Linked DNA regions of Homo sapiens: region 1 is linked to region 2. The links are contacts of gene promoters, found by promoter capture Hi-C in human tissues and cell types (Jung and others, 2019). All regions are on one chromosome and are shown on one strand. The core of a region is centred on a gene start or on the middle of the fragment in contact, and the rest is flanking DNA. Distances in the headings are between cores, read along the strand shown. Region 1 has its middle 16 kb from the start of MC5R. Region 2 holds the start of MC2R (melanocortin 2 receptor).

Region 1 (7,405 bases), core at 1,446-3,945, 76 kb before region 2:
CCGCGCTTTGTCTTCCCGTCTTCCCCTCACCTCAGTGTCCTCTTTCTCTCACGTTCTTTTTTTTTTTTTTTGAGAGGGAGTCTCGCTCTGTCACCCAGGCTGGAGAGCAGTGGCACGATCTCGGCTCACTGGCAAGCTCCGCCTCCCGGATTCACACCATTCTCCTGCCTCAGCCTCCCGAGTAGCTGGGACTGTTGGCGCCCGCCACCACACCCGGCTAATTTTTTGTTGTTGTATTTTTAGTAAAGACGGGGTTTCACCGTGTTAGCCAGGATGGTCTCGATCTCCTGACCTCGTGATCCGCCCGCCTCGGCCTCCCAAAGTGCTGGTATTACAGGCGTGAGCCACCGCGCCCGGCCCTCTCACATTCTTAAGAAGGCACAGTTCCTCCTACTCCTTCAACCCCAAAGAGAAGCCCTCGGGAATATCAGTAATGAAAACAGCACGTTCCCAGGAACTCCCTGGCCCCGCTCCTCCCAGGAACCGTCTCTGCGGTGCTGCAGGCCATGAGCTCCGCTCTGGGTGGGAAATCCAGCCCCTGCCGCGAGGGACCTGGGCCGCTAGGCCAGGAGGCCGTGTCATCCCATTCACAACAGCAACAACGCACCCTTTCCACCGAGGCCTGTCCATGTTTGGGGCTGTTCTCTGCCTCATACAGCAAAGTGTGGGGAGGTGGAGATTGTTTTCTAGGAAGACAAGGTTCTTCCTGGGAGAAAAAAACCTCTTACGCAGTTGGCTTTGGCATTTTCCAGGAAAAGGAGGGCGGGGCTTGAGTCTGGGTTTTCTGTGAAGGCCGAGAAAGAAGGCAAGGATTATAACCGGAAAGTTCAGAGTGGGATGTAGCTACCCCTAGAACTCGTGCTAGTAACTCAGTCTGGGCTTCATAATTGTTGTCAAAGTGAATTCCTTCATAATAAAGAATATATAGTTGCCCTCACAAATTAGATAAATAAGCCTTTCCTCATTTTGTAGGAAGAACTGTGGGGCAGTAGAACACATACTGAGCCCTGGAGCAGGAGACCTGGGTTCTTGCAATTTTTTTTTTTTTTTTTTTTTGAGACAGAGTCTCACTTTGTCGCCCAGCCTGGAGTGCAGTGGCACGATCTTGGCTCACTGCAACCTCCGCCTCCCGGGTTCAAGCAATTCTCCTGCCTCAGCCTCCCAAGTAGCTGGGATTATAGGCATGTGACACCATGCTTGGCTAATTCTTGTATTTTTAGTAGAAATGGGGTTTTGCCATGTTGGCCAGGCTGGTCTTGAACTCCTGACCTCAGGTGATCTGCTCACCTCAGCCTCCCAAAGTGCTGGGTTTACAGGTGTGAGTCACTGCGCCCGGCCGCAATTCTTGTGATATGAAGTAACTGCATATGTTTTGGAAATTCCCTCATTTCAGCTGCACTTGCTGTAAAGGGGAGAGTTTGACTAGGCCTGGTGGTTTTCAAACTTCAGGTGGAGTCCTAGGAGCTCCAGGGGCCAGGGATGTGCCAAGAACCTGGGCAGGAGGAGCCTGGACTCATCAACTCTCTCTGCGGAATGGTCAGTTTCACGGAGAGCAGCTAGGAGCCAGCTGGTCTGTAGATTGTTGAGGTTCCTCCAGTCCTGAAGGCCATGATAGATCTTTTCCTAATATTCTTAGGTACAATTACCATGATACTTAATATGAGACACTGAGAAAGAGAGAGATCCAATACAAATCGATGGCGACATGAGAAGCCAGCTATGTCTTCTGATTCAGGCTACAGGATCACAGACCTCTTATATTTGGCTCCATTGTAGAGTCTGTGTACATAGAAAGGCAACAGGCTCTTCAAAATGATAAGAAAAAGGGCAAGAAAGGCTCTTCCTGAGGGTGCTCTAGCCTCCAGACTCAGGTTTACAAGGCAAGAATGACACAGCCTCTCCCACACCATGTGCATGGACGGAACAGTGCCCGAGGTGGCAGAACAAAAGGTGCAGTGGCACCCATGGCATAGCTGGCGGGGCACCAGCCTTCCCCCACAGTGAGAGGAATGGCCAAGGCTTCGGTACATGCCAAGGATGTGAAGGACGCTGCCGGGGAAAAGCAGTTTACAGGAGGCACCGCTCCTGTGGGTGTCCAGGTTTGTCTGCCTTACACGCCGCCCTTCACAGTAGAAAGGATGGATGCACTCCCACCAACCAAAGGAATGCTGGGGACACGTCGCCTGGATTTTTAGGGCAGCACCCCAAAACCAAGCAAAAGTCTTCTCTCATGGAGAAAATACCTCACTTTTGTGTCCCTGGCACCAGGCTCAAGCCAACTAGACTGAGAACCACAGACCACCCAGGGGTCTGGTGGGTGAGCTAGGTGACTAATTGAGAATGTGTTCAGTTCTGGCCTTTAAAAAAAAAAAAAGAACAGCTGGAAGGCACAATTTTAGAAGCAGGTAATTTTTATTTTATTCCTTTTGATTAAAATGGTCTGAACTGAACCTCAAAGGGGTTCCACTAATATAGTCTAATTAAATTCATTTGACAAAAGCCTCACTTATTCCTCTCTTCACAGAATACTCTGGATGTGGTGAAGCTAAATTTGAGGGCTCTGGAAGGACCTATGTATTAATTCAGTAACTTAGTGTTTGTATGCATATCGATCTAAGCAAACATACCTAAAAGAAGAATGAGTGTGTAAAAATTGTGGAATATTCCAGATAAAATGGACCTGTTCAAGCATTGTGTAAAAATACACCCATCTTATCCATTCTAATGAATCCAGCATGTTCAGACACTTGTGCCTTCTTCATTTATTCCTTCAATACTTTTAATATTTAGTATTAATATAACAGAAATGACACATTACAGATAATATTCAGATACATGTCTCATAAGATTTTGTGGCTACTCATCAGCCCCTCTGCGTCAGCATGTTGGTGAGAATCTTGGCCAGGAGGGTCTGGGATTCCATAGCTCTGGTCCCACCTCACCTTCTTCCTGTGCCATGGTTCTCATCCAGCCAGACTTCTCATCATGGGACCCATCAAATGGGCACTCCTCTGCATCACAGCTGACACATTATGCACAGAGATTGTGTCTTCTTTCTGTTTGCAACTGTTCAAAGGATAGTCTTTAAAATTCAGAGGCCTCTACCTCAACTGCACAGATTTCTAATTCTACTCCTCATGTTATTTCCTATCTTTTTGCTAAATAACAATTTTGTCGCTAAGATGCTAATGATACATTCCCTTTTGAAGCAAATAAACTCTGCCCAGTGTTCCTACCAAGCGCCCTCCTTCTTTGAATCTCTGAAACCTATGACCAAATAGTATTTTGTGGTTTAGTGGTTTCTTACCAAGTACCTCAAAGGGAAAGTATGGTGGCATGGATAATTCGAAAGAGTAAATGTCTCTATTTGACTTTGGAATATTGTTTTATTCCAACAATATCCTAGTTGCTGCCTAATTAGTTTTGGGCCATGGTTAATAGTGAACTAGCTTTCATCCCTTGAGCAAATAAACCATTTCATCTTCTCTCCCCTATGTATTCAGATTCAGTTAGCTTCCCTCTCTGGGTGTGGATAAATTGAAATTCTGCAAATGATATTTTCTTTAGGCAGAAATGAAAAAAAAAAAGGTAGAATTGAATCTTTCTGACCATGGAAAGATTTAATTCTACCTTTTTGTGCATTGAGATCAGCCTGGGCAACATAGCAAAACCCCATTTCTACGAAAAGTACAAAAATTAGCTGGACATGGTGTCGCGTCTGTAGTCCCAGCTACTTGGGAGGCTGAGATGGGACCATCTCGTGTTGGCTTCTTTTTTAAAAAATCCTTGTATTAATTAAACATTTCAACTCTACACAGTTTGGAGTCAACAAAACTCATATAAATACCACACAGCTTTATCAAATTGTAACATTTGTCTATATCTACTTATTTTTTATTTTTTGTTTTTGAGACAGTTTTGCTTTGTCACCCAGGCTGGAGTACAGTGAGGCGATTATGGCTCACTGCAACCTCCACCTCCCAGGCTCAAGCAATCTCCCCGCTCAGCCTCTCAAACAGCTGGGACTACAGGCTTGACGCCATGTCTGGCTAATTTTTGTACTTTTTGTAGAAATGGGTTTTTGCCATGCTGCCCAGGCTGGTCTCAAACTCCTGGGCTCAAGAAATCAGCCTGACTTGGCCTCCCAAAGTGCTGGGATTACAGGTGAGAACCACCACGAGTGGCCTCCTGATGGCATATAAATAAATTATAAATGAATATTAAATTTTATTTAATGCTTTTCCAGCATCTATCAGCTGATCATTTTTCTCCTTTAATTTGTTAATGTGATATATTACATTAATAGATATTTAAATATTAAGCTGTCTTTGCGAACTACAAATAAAGGTTGATATGTATTATTTATGGCCAGAGTTATAAAGCTATGTTTTTTGACCAAATACTTATTCTGAATTATACTTTCATATATTTAAAATTATTAATACTGATATAATCTAATATATATTTTATAAATGACCTTTAATGAATTTCAAGAGAAATGGGAACAGCAGCCAAAAAGTTAAAACTTAAGATATATGGTTTCCCTAAATATACCTTTTGAAATAGAGGAAAAAGAAGTCTTCATGTACTACTTACATGGGTACTGCTTTACCTGTATTTAGTGAGAGGGGTTTCATATACTTTGTGCAGATCCGTATTTGCTACACATGCCACAGTTTGCGGCTAGAGCCTCTTATGCTCAAGAGTGCTGATCTCCTTTTGACATTATCATCATTAAAGAAGTAGCAAACAACCACAGCTGTTATATACTTTGCCAGCATGTGCTGAGTATGTAAGATCTAAATATTATTTATGCAGAATTGCAGAGAGAATGATCTAGTTGTTTCTGTCTGCAAACCCATATAGATACTCCTTTACTGATGCATATAGTCTGTAGTATAATTGAAAAATTTGATAGTTTGTTAGCAAGTCTTGAAGAGCCTCTAGGTATGCATATACCCTCGTACAATGAAAGTTCATCTTTCTTCACATTCCCTAGTATCTCAACGTCAGACTTTGACCATGTTCCGCAGAATTCTGCCAAGATAGGGAGATCAGGGAGCAGGAAGATCAACCACAAAAGATTAAGAACTGGCCGGGTGCGGTGGCTCACGCCTGCAATCCCAGCACTTTGGGAGGCTGAGGCGGGTGAATCACGACGTCAGGAGATCGAGATCATCCTGGCTAACACGGTGAAACCCCGTTTCTACTAAAAATACAAAAAATAAAAAATTAGCTGGGCGTGGTGGCACGTGCCTGTAGTCCCAGCTACTGGGGAGGCTGAGGCAGGAGAATTGCTTGAATCTGGGAGGTGAAGATTGTAGTGAGTCGAGATTGCGCCACTGCACTCCAGCCTGGGTGACTGAGCGAGACTCTGTCTCAAACAAAAAAAAAACAAAAAAAAACTAAGAACTGCCTCTAGAAAAGCAGGGGACTTTTTGTTTGCATTATGAATACATTTACCTAATTTAACTCATTAAGAAAGTGTTATATTGGTAGAAATTATACTACACTTTGAGGTAACAAAGTCTAAGAGCTTACAAGCTATTAACATGCTTCATTTTATGTACCCCTGTCAATTTTCTAGAGGTTTCAGCAGTGTGGGAATTTTTGAACAAGGATGTGATGTTATATAGACTTTAGTGGTGGCCCCTCCCAGCCCCTGCTGAAGAGTGCTACAACTCTTTGTTTCCTTGTAGCAGTCTACCTCTTTGATGATATTCAATCAGAGAGAGTTGGGACACATGAAAAATTGTCCTCATACCAATAAATCTAAAATGTTAACCAAATAACTTGATGGAATATGTCTAGGAGGAAGCAAGAACTTCCTTTTAGAGATAGGGACAGAACCCAGAAAAGTACTGTTATGAGAGGTGATGATGCAGTGACTCAGAATTGAAGTCACGGGGTTCAAATCCAGCTCCATGCCTACTATTTTTATGGCCTTGGACAAAATACTTAACTTTGATAAGATCCCATAATCCCACCAGTTACTCAGGAATACTTACTGTATTTATTTATTTTTTGAGACGGAGTCTCGCTCTGTCGCCCAAGCTAGAGTGCAGTGGCGTGATCTCGGCTCATTTCAAGCTCCGCCTCCCGGGTTCACGCCACTCTCCTGCTTCAGCCTCCCGAGTAGCTGGGACTACAGGCGCCCGCCACCATGCCTGGCTAATGTTTTGTATTTTTAGTAGAGACGGGGTTCACCATGTTAGCCAGGATGGTCTTGATCTCCTGACCTCGTGATTTGCCCACCTCGGTCTCCCAAAGTGTTGGGATTACAGGCATGAACCACTGCACCCAGCCAGGGTTACTTATATTACCTCCCTCATAGTGCTGTTGTGAGAGATAAATGAGATAACTCTCAGCACCAAGCTGGGAACATGGAGAATGCTTAATAAATGTCAGTATCAATTATTATTATTATTATTAGTCTTTGTTTGGGTTGCTGTAACAAAATGCCATTGATTGGGTGGCTTACAAACAACAGAAATTTATTTCTCACAGTTCTGGGGGCGGGGAAGTCCAGGATCAGGTGCTTCCAGGTTTGGTGTCTGGTGGGGACTGCTTCCTGGTTCATAGACGGTGACTTCTTGCTGTGTCCTCACAGTGTGGAAAGGGAGAGGTGTCCCTCTTGAGCCTCTTTTATTAAGAGCACTAATCCCATTCATGAGGGCTCCACCCTCATGACCTAATCAGCTGTCAAAGGCCCCACCTCTTAATACCATCAGCTTAGGACTTATGATTTCAGTATATGAATCTGGGAGGACCACAGCTTATTCCAGTGGCAGATGACAAGTGAGCAGAGCCACTGGACCACAGTGGGTTAGTGATTCCACCAATGTACAGGTTAGCTATGCCTCAGTAAGTGACATAGTGAGGATTTGATAAGGTAATGCATTTAAAGCACTTGGCATAAAATCCAACACATCTGTTGACTAGTAAATAATCAACAGATGACAGGATAGTTACATATTGTTATTATTTATAACATTTCAGACAATTAAACAGGGATCTGAGAGGTTAAGCCAACAATTCCTAATCTCAAGTTGTGACCAAATTTATTACAAAAGATCTTCTGAAAGGGTCATAAAAATATTTGAAACAAACCCTCGAGTTATATTTCTAGTCTGCTTCTAAAAGACCAGCCCTCCGCCAGATAATTATAAACTCTGGACACAATTTTTAAAATACCCAGATCTCTGAGAAGGGAACAAAAGCAGGCAGAGTTTGGAGAGGAATTGTGTCTTGGAGGAAGGGGCTGGCACAGTGAGTCTCTGTTTCTGTGGCTTTGGTATGAGAGCGAGAAGCCATCTCTGAGACAGTGCAATGCAGGGAGATTAAAATTCTCATCTAAAGGCCACCGTCTTTCTTGCTTGAGCAACCAGGGTGACCACATCTGTCA
Region 2 (7,568 bases), core at 3,507-6,006:
AGGCAGCTTGGAATCTCTCAATCCATCTACTTCTCATCACAACAGTGTTTGCCCCAAATCATGCCAACCACAGTGGGGGAGCTGGCAGATGCCCCTGTGTCCCAGTGTCTCTCCTACAAAACCAACACCAGTCACCACCCCATCATGGGTGAAAGCATCATCCCCAGAAAATGCTTCCTTTTTGAATTCTTATCTTTTACACCTGAGACCAGGTTGACATTGGCTCACTTAATCCCATGATTTATGATTTATAAAAAGCAGTCAGCGTGGCTCAGCAGGGAACACAGGCAGGTGCAGTTGCCTTAGGTGAGAGTGCGAAGCAGCAAAACCCCAGAGCTGCGGTGATTGCTAGAGCAAGGAGGCCAGTAACAGTAGCAGGGACTAGGGGCCAAAGGACACAGGGACAGGAGAGGAGCTGAGGGCCGGGCAGCCGAGAGCAGGGGCCGGAGTGTCAGGGAGCAACCCAGGCAGCCTGCAGCCTCTCCTGGAGCTCCCTTTTTATTAGATAAAGAAACTCCATCAAGTCCTTGTTTTACCTTAAAAACTAGTACTAAATTCTTCCCTGCACAGTCCCATTTTCATTCTCATCTCTGAAATGGCTCAAAATTTCCTCTTTTGAAAAAGCATAAACTAGTTTATAACTGGTTTAGTTAGCCAAACAAATGCCATGAAATAAAAGGATGTCAGTAAAGATCTGCTTTTTCTCCCAGATGAAGGCTTTAAAATTTGCTGGGTATCTTTGGACGAGTGCCTGGAAGACTTCTCTGCCTTACCTAGCTCCTATTCGCCCCACCTTTAAAAAGTGGCCGAGTCCAGCCCAATCAGACCCCAGGGCCACCATGAGTGCAGCGGGTAGCTTTGGCTTCTGGACCTTGCTCTGGAGTCACTGGCTTTGCGCCATCTATGACAGGGTCTCCATCCTAGGGTCTGGGGGATGTTAACTGGGAAAAAGGAGATTGGGGCATATGAGGAGGGCAGGAGGAAGAAAGATTTAAGATCTTTTGGGGGCTTTAATCCAAGTAATCACTTAAAGAATTGGCAGTTTTTAGCACCTCTAGGATCCAATTTTAGGTTATATGTCATTGGAAATCCAAAAGATACAGGAAACACCGTACTGCCTATGAACATCTAGCTGAGGAGGTAAGACATGCACAGCTGAGAAAGAGGACAGGTGAGCCTTTGGTCACTTGCAAATTGGGGTCAGAACTGCTCCATGGTGTGGATGGCATGGAAAAGAATTGGCTTCACTTACGAGTGCTTTAGGTAATTCATTCTGTACTGTGTTGGGCCCACAATGCATGTTCAGCAATTTTACTTAATACTCAACCAGGTAAAACAGCAGATTCCAGGATACCTCAGCACATCCTTACAATTCTGCACTTTAAGGGCAATTTGATTTTGCCATGGTTTCTCTTGCAATGTTAAAGGTTGGAGACAGGGCAGAGTGAAAGGTATTCTCTCTTAATGCTCCAGTTACACATAAAGGGTAGGTGTTCCTATTTCCTGCTCCCCTGCCTATATTATAGATAAGAAAACGGAGGCTCAGGGAGGTTGGGTTACTTGCTTAAGGTCACCCAGCTGCGAATCTGCCTCATTCCAAGGTCTGTGCTCGCTTGGTTATTCCAAAGAGCCTGAGAGGCTGAGTGTTTGGAAGCAGGACAAGCCTAGCTCTGAAACAGGTATGGGTAGGAGGACCGGGTCAGGTTGGGCCAAGAGCTGTGGGAGGAGCTGGGAACTGAGGGGCTCAGGACTCTGAGGCTGTTTTGGTGCTAAATAAAACAAAATAACAACATAGCACCATAATAAAACTTGTAGATTATTATTAATCAATTAATCAATACTCTGTTGAAATAGGAAAAATTCAAGGACAGATGAATTTCTACGTTGTTTTCTGCTCCCGGACCATCCCAACTGCTTTGCTAGGGCCCAGTCACTGTCTCCAGCTGAAGTCAGTTTTCCTTGAACTTACTGATGTTGATCTTACAGAGTTATAAGTTACGCTTATCACTGTGAAGACTGGCTGCAGCCAGCAGAGCTCGCTATGGTAGGCAATGGCTCATCTGAATCCAGCGCACATCTTGTTTTGAATTCCGCATAGGCTCAATTATGAGAGGCCTTCAAGGGAGCCTTATTTTGGGGGTGGCTTTATTCTTTTTCCCCATGCCGGGCACAGGCAGAAGCATCTCTCGGTGTGATCATCTTGCAGGCCGCTGGGCAGGTTTACAGCTTTTCCGACACTTCACAGAGAACTGCTGCTTACAGTATAATTTCTTTTTTAATATACACAAGACTGGAAATTAGGCATGAATGACAATGTGATCACATCTTAGGACGAGCGAAGGAAAGTCCCGAGAATGGAAGCTTTTGCAGGAGCTCACAGCTAGGGAGGCATGAAGCCCAGGCTGGAGTGTTCTGGTTGGAAATCAGTGTGATGCTCAGCTCCCTGCACAGCCTCACCTGGACCACCACCTTCCACCCGCTCACATCTCCCGTCCTCTGAGCTTCACTGCTCATGGCAGGCTTCCTCCACGGTGCCTTCCTGCCAGTGTGACCCACTCGGACCTTTCCCTGCCACGGCTGTGCTGCTCACACAAACGCTTGCTGCCCCCAGGTTTTGATGCTGGGACACCTACTAGGTTGATTAGTCTCTGTAGTTTGCACATGTTGTTCTCCCACCAAGTCAGGCTCTGTGCGTTACCCATGCTGCTAGCACAGCGCTTGGCACACGCATATTTTGAGTTGAGAACTTACTTTAAAACCATCTTCCAAATTTTGTACCCTGGCGGCTCATAGTCAGAGAACAGAGAAGTTAAGACTTTAGGACTCCACCACACTTTAAGGCCCACTGGGTGGGTCTGCACCAGCGCTTGCCTGTCTGTTCACACGTTCTCTCTCCCTGGGCCTGGACACGTCCTTCCTCACTTCTCACACTCAGCACTGTGTCCTTGCCCAAGTACAGACTCTCTTCCACTGCCCCCGCATCCCAAGGGAGCCCAGGATTGCTGCCCGTCTATGCACCTGTAGCTGTTTGTTCTTATTTCTACAACGGCATTATTCACATGAAAACCCTGCAGATGGATCTGAGTTCCTTAGGATAAGACCTGCCCTGACCATGTCTGAGGCTGAGCCCTGCAGACAACCTGGCCCACAGCAATTATATTTGCCTAATGAAGGCAAGGAATGTGGCTTACACAGACAAGAAAGCTCTCATTAAAATGTATTAGACACTAAGGATTCCATAGGAAACATACCTGGGATCATTAACAAGGTAAAGAATAGGATTTTTTTTTTTTTTTAAGATGTCTTAAGTTGCTCTGAGGCAGTGAGAGGGCAATTTGCTGCTGAGCAAAAACCTCCTCTGCCAGAGATTCAGGATCCACTGAGAAGTCAGGATGGCTTTGGAGCTTATCTACCCCATTACCCTGGTTCATGCCCTCCTCCACCCCTGCCGCGGCCTAAGCGGTGTCCCAAAGGCAGGGTGAGGGCTCCCGTCTCCCTGCTCCCACAGCTCTTTGTGGGTGTGTGTCCTGTCTGGGAGCTAGTGTGAAGTGTTGTCTCAGTGTGCGCTGTCCTCAGCGCCGGGGCTCCAGGAGGCTCCACTCTGACTTAGGCTTGCAACAAGGCCCAGCACATAAGGGTTCGGTACAGCTTGATCTAGGCATGAATGTGTGAGCAGAGCCTGTGACCACCGCTTCACTCCCACTCCGGGGATGGGGTGGGGAGGGCATGTGAGGAGCACTCCTCCTTCTGATCTGCTCAAGGCTGTACTCTCTGGACCCCTTTGTACCCCTTTCCCATTCCTATCCCTTTTGGACTTTTTGCATGCATGTATGTATGTATGTTTACAAGTGTGCACGTGTATGTGTGTATATGTGTGTGTATGAGTGTGTGTGTGTAAGTGAAGAATGGGGACAGTTATCTGAAGGCAGCTTAGACAAACTGAAATATGAAGAAGAGCTGTTTAATCGAATGCCTGGGCCTCTTTTCTAGGTAACATGTGCCCCCCGACAGAGCCAGCCAAAGGAAGGTGTGAGCCCCTCATGATGGCAGTGACTGCATGCTTTCTGGGTGCAAACACTTTGCAGGAGTATGTGATAATCAGTATGCTTTTAGTTATTGTTTATCCTGCACCCCGTGTTGCTGCCTAGGAAGGTGGAGGCTGACTGAGCTAGTGGTTGAGAAAGGCACAGAAAGTGTGCGTGCATCTCCCAGAACTGTAACGTCACACGTGTGGATGGTGGAGTTGCTTAGACACCAATGCCTGAGGTTCAGGAAGCTGCCGCATGCCCACGTCTTTGTGGCGCTAAAACCCCCGCACTCTTACACCTAGACAAGCTGATCAGGTGAAGGGGCTAACTCCAGAAGTGATAATAGAAGCATGATTTGTTTCACCCCTAATTCTATTAGGAAAAAACTGGCTGTAGTCCTTGAATAGAGCTCAATGACAATTTGAAGAGTACTAGAGAAGCCAATAAATTCATTAATAGGGAAGATTGTTTTAGCTAGACAAAAAGGTAATAGCCTTCATTGTAGTAGTTTAATTAGAAAAATAATAAACTCCCTTAGGAAGGATGAAAGCCCATAATTAAAAAGATGAGCTATTTGGAGGAATTCTGAATAGTACCTCTTCTCAGATTTGTTCCTAGCTGCTCTATTCATGGTCCAAAAGCACTTAGCAAGCTGAGGAATTAGTGGAAAATGTACTTACCTTCAGCTCTGAAGCAGGAACTTTCTGGGCAAAATGAATGAGAAGGAATGAGCTCGGAGAGAAAAGCAAGCAAGTGGACCTTGGGCCGGGAAGGGCCGGAACACATGCATCACCGGAGATACAGCTAGATTGTTATCATTACCTTGAATAAATGTCATCCCACATGAACTGTGCATTTCTGGTAATGTGAAGTTAGAGAAATGGAAAGACACAGGCAGATGAAGACATAATTTCCATGAGCTCAGCTAGTCAAGGTTACTTCCAATGTTTATGACAATGTTTCTAGCAGATTATGGAATTGTCATCTTGCTCTTTTTAAATGCCACTTTAGAGTTGCATTTATTTCCAAAAAGAACTAAGGAATTAAATAAATCAGGTTTTTGAGAAAATGGTTTTGGAAGAATTTGTTTTAAAACTTCTAGCAAACTTCTTGATATATCTTGCAAATATTTGGCTCATTAGTTTCATTAAGAAGAAGGGAATAGCCCCATTATCCCTATTTCACAAGACTAAACAATGAGAGTGAGGGAACTGTGTGCTCAAGTGCACATATGACGCATGGGTCCAGACAAGAAAAAAACCCTGTGTTCTGCCAATGCTTCTCCGTCCAAAAACTTCACAGAAACCGCCATAGATAAGAGCCATCATTCAAAGCAAAATTCTTCCATTTTAGGGTGCAATGCTGTGTGTTTTCTGCCTGCCGGGGCCTGCAGGGAAGGGCTACTGTTGGTGTCAGTCACAGCAACAGGAATGTTGAAGTGTGGAATTGGGCCAAGTTTCCAGATGGTCCTGGGTTTTTGGGGCTGGGGCCAAACCAGTGGCTGTTTCTGAAATGTGAGCTTCCGCCCCAAGCTAAAAAGTGTTCACACGTGGGTGGTCTGGAAAAGACCAAAGAGAGAGACCTGAGTTGAATTTGCCAGGCGGGTAAACACAATTTTATAAAGTGGCTTTTCCTGGCCTGTCACTGAGGCAAAGCGTGTTGTCCCCAGGAACTCATGGACCCAGGATCATCCCAGACTTCGACTGTTTCTGAGTAGGTGTGTGCCTCCGCAACATGCCCTGCAGCTGAAACCCGGCGTTCCACAGGCCTCTTTCCCTCTTCAGTCATGTAGTTGAGATAACAGAGAAAAGCAAGGCATTGCCTCCAGAAAGCTACTGTATTATCTGGAAAAGTAGAGACAACTCGTCCTTAGCCCTTGTACTTGCAGAAGCAGAGGCCCTTTGTCAGAGATCTGTGGATCTGATTAGCTGATTGGGAAAACCGGTGGCCAGCCCTGGGGAGTGGGACATCAGGCAGGCTGCAGACAATGGGAACACTGTCTGGAGGAGGCGAGCCTCGGCCAGTCCCCTGGGTGGGACCTGGGCCACTCTGATTGGGAGGGACAGGGAGAGACTTCCAGCAGGGGGAAGGTTGCCTAGGGGTTTGGCTAAGCCCTGCAAAGAGAGTAGCTATTGCTATTTTAGTTCTTCCATTTTGGGGGCTCATCTCTCTCCAATTTTTAGAGAAAAGGGGGCAAAAATCTCTTGGAAGGAGCAGAGTAGAAATGACAGAGTTTAGAACCAGAAGACACGCGGTCAGAGTTCTGAGTGCCAGGCCTCTAGGACTCCATTGCCTGGTGTAAAGCGGGCTGTTGTGAGAATTCAGACTAGGTTTGTAACAGTGCTCAGGGAAATCTAAAACCATATGCCAATACCTATGGTTTTTGTTATAACCCTGTCCAAACACTCTTGAAATAGTGGTATTTTAAAAGAAATATCTTTGCTGTAGGGAAACCCATTCAGCTGGTGATCATTGGAAAGCAAACTTGTAAGTGGAGATGCTGGTAGATGAACTCTGATGACCATGTTACAACTGCGCCACCATTCCGTCACCAGCCCAGTCTCTCTCTCATCCCAAGAGATACGATGGAAAAGGGGAATTTTAGGGAGCATTCAAAGGGCTTCTGTATGCACCCTTTCTTCTCTTCTCACACAATCGTATACAACTCGGTCACTTTCACAAATACAACTTCCTCCCCAGTGCTTGTCCCTCTCATGGAAAAGCTAAAGAGGCAGAGAGAGAGAAAGAGTGAGAGGGTGGGGGAGGCTTGGGAGGCAGAGCAAGGGGAAAGGAGATGCAATGGGGAAACAGAAGGGGACAGGAAGAAGAGACAGGGCCGGGGATCTGTCTTTTGTGTTTGCAGGACTGCCCCATTCTGACATAGAAAATGCTGGGGTTGGAAGGTAACTCACAAATGTCTTTGCTGAAATCTGCAGTGGAAGCAATGGTAAGAATCCACAGTGGGTTTCCTATGTGCCAGCCATGATGAATGTTCTCAGTGCTGTACATATCTCGACATTTAATCTTCTCAGCACATGTGTGAAGTCACCTTACAGACCCCATTTATAGATGGGGATCTGAGAAGTTCAGTGGCTCTACAGAGGCCATGATAGCACTTAAGACTTTCCTGTAAGAACGATGAGGAGTCAGGACTAGGATGACATGACCTGATTCAGGCTTTAAAGGATCCTCTCCACGGGTTGTAGGGGCCAGAGGGGAGACGGGACAGTGGTAGAGGTGGGTGCCTGGTGGGAGCTGCTTGAGGAGGAAATGGGAAGTGAGGAGAGGAGACAGCAAGCATGGACAAGCTCTTATGAAACATTTACATTTAAATTTTAAATAAATATTGTATATATTTAAGGTGTATATGATGTTTTGTGTGTATACTCACAGTGGACTGCTGACTGCAGCCAATCTACTGAACATACCCATCGGCCTGCAGTTGCCTTTCTGTGTGTGTGGTGAGAACACTTCAGATCTGCTCTCTTTGCACATTTCCTTTTCTTTTTCTTTTTCTTTTGTTTTGTTTTGTTTTGTGTT

The links. Contacts are between HindIII fragments. The study calls those that stand out against the background at their distance.
Region 1: a fragment that was not itself captured here is called in contact with the fragment with the promoter of MC2R in region 2 in 3 of the 25 tissues and cell types used here (dorsolateral prefrontal cortex, mesendoderm cells and thymus).

What each region holds. Positions count from the first base shown.
Region 1 is chr18:13,836,945-13,844,349 of GRCh38, forward strand. No RefSeq gene overlaps it. Among named protein-coding and RNA genes, the nearest start is that of MC5R, 16 kb to the left of the region's middle. The HindIII fragment of the contact is 9,332 bases long and covers 1-7,361 here.
Region 2 is chr18:13,910,780-13,918,347 of GRCh38, forward strand. MC2R (melanocortin 2 receptor) reads right to left here and starts at 4,757. Exons shown (of 2, transcript NM_000529.2): 1 at 4,709-4,757. The HindIII fragment of the contact is 21,573 bases long and covers 1-7,568 here.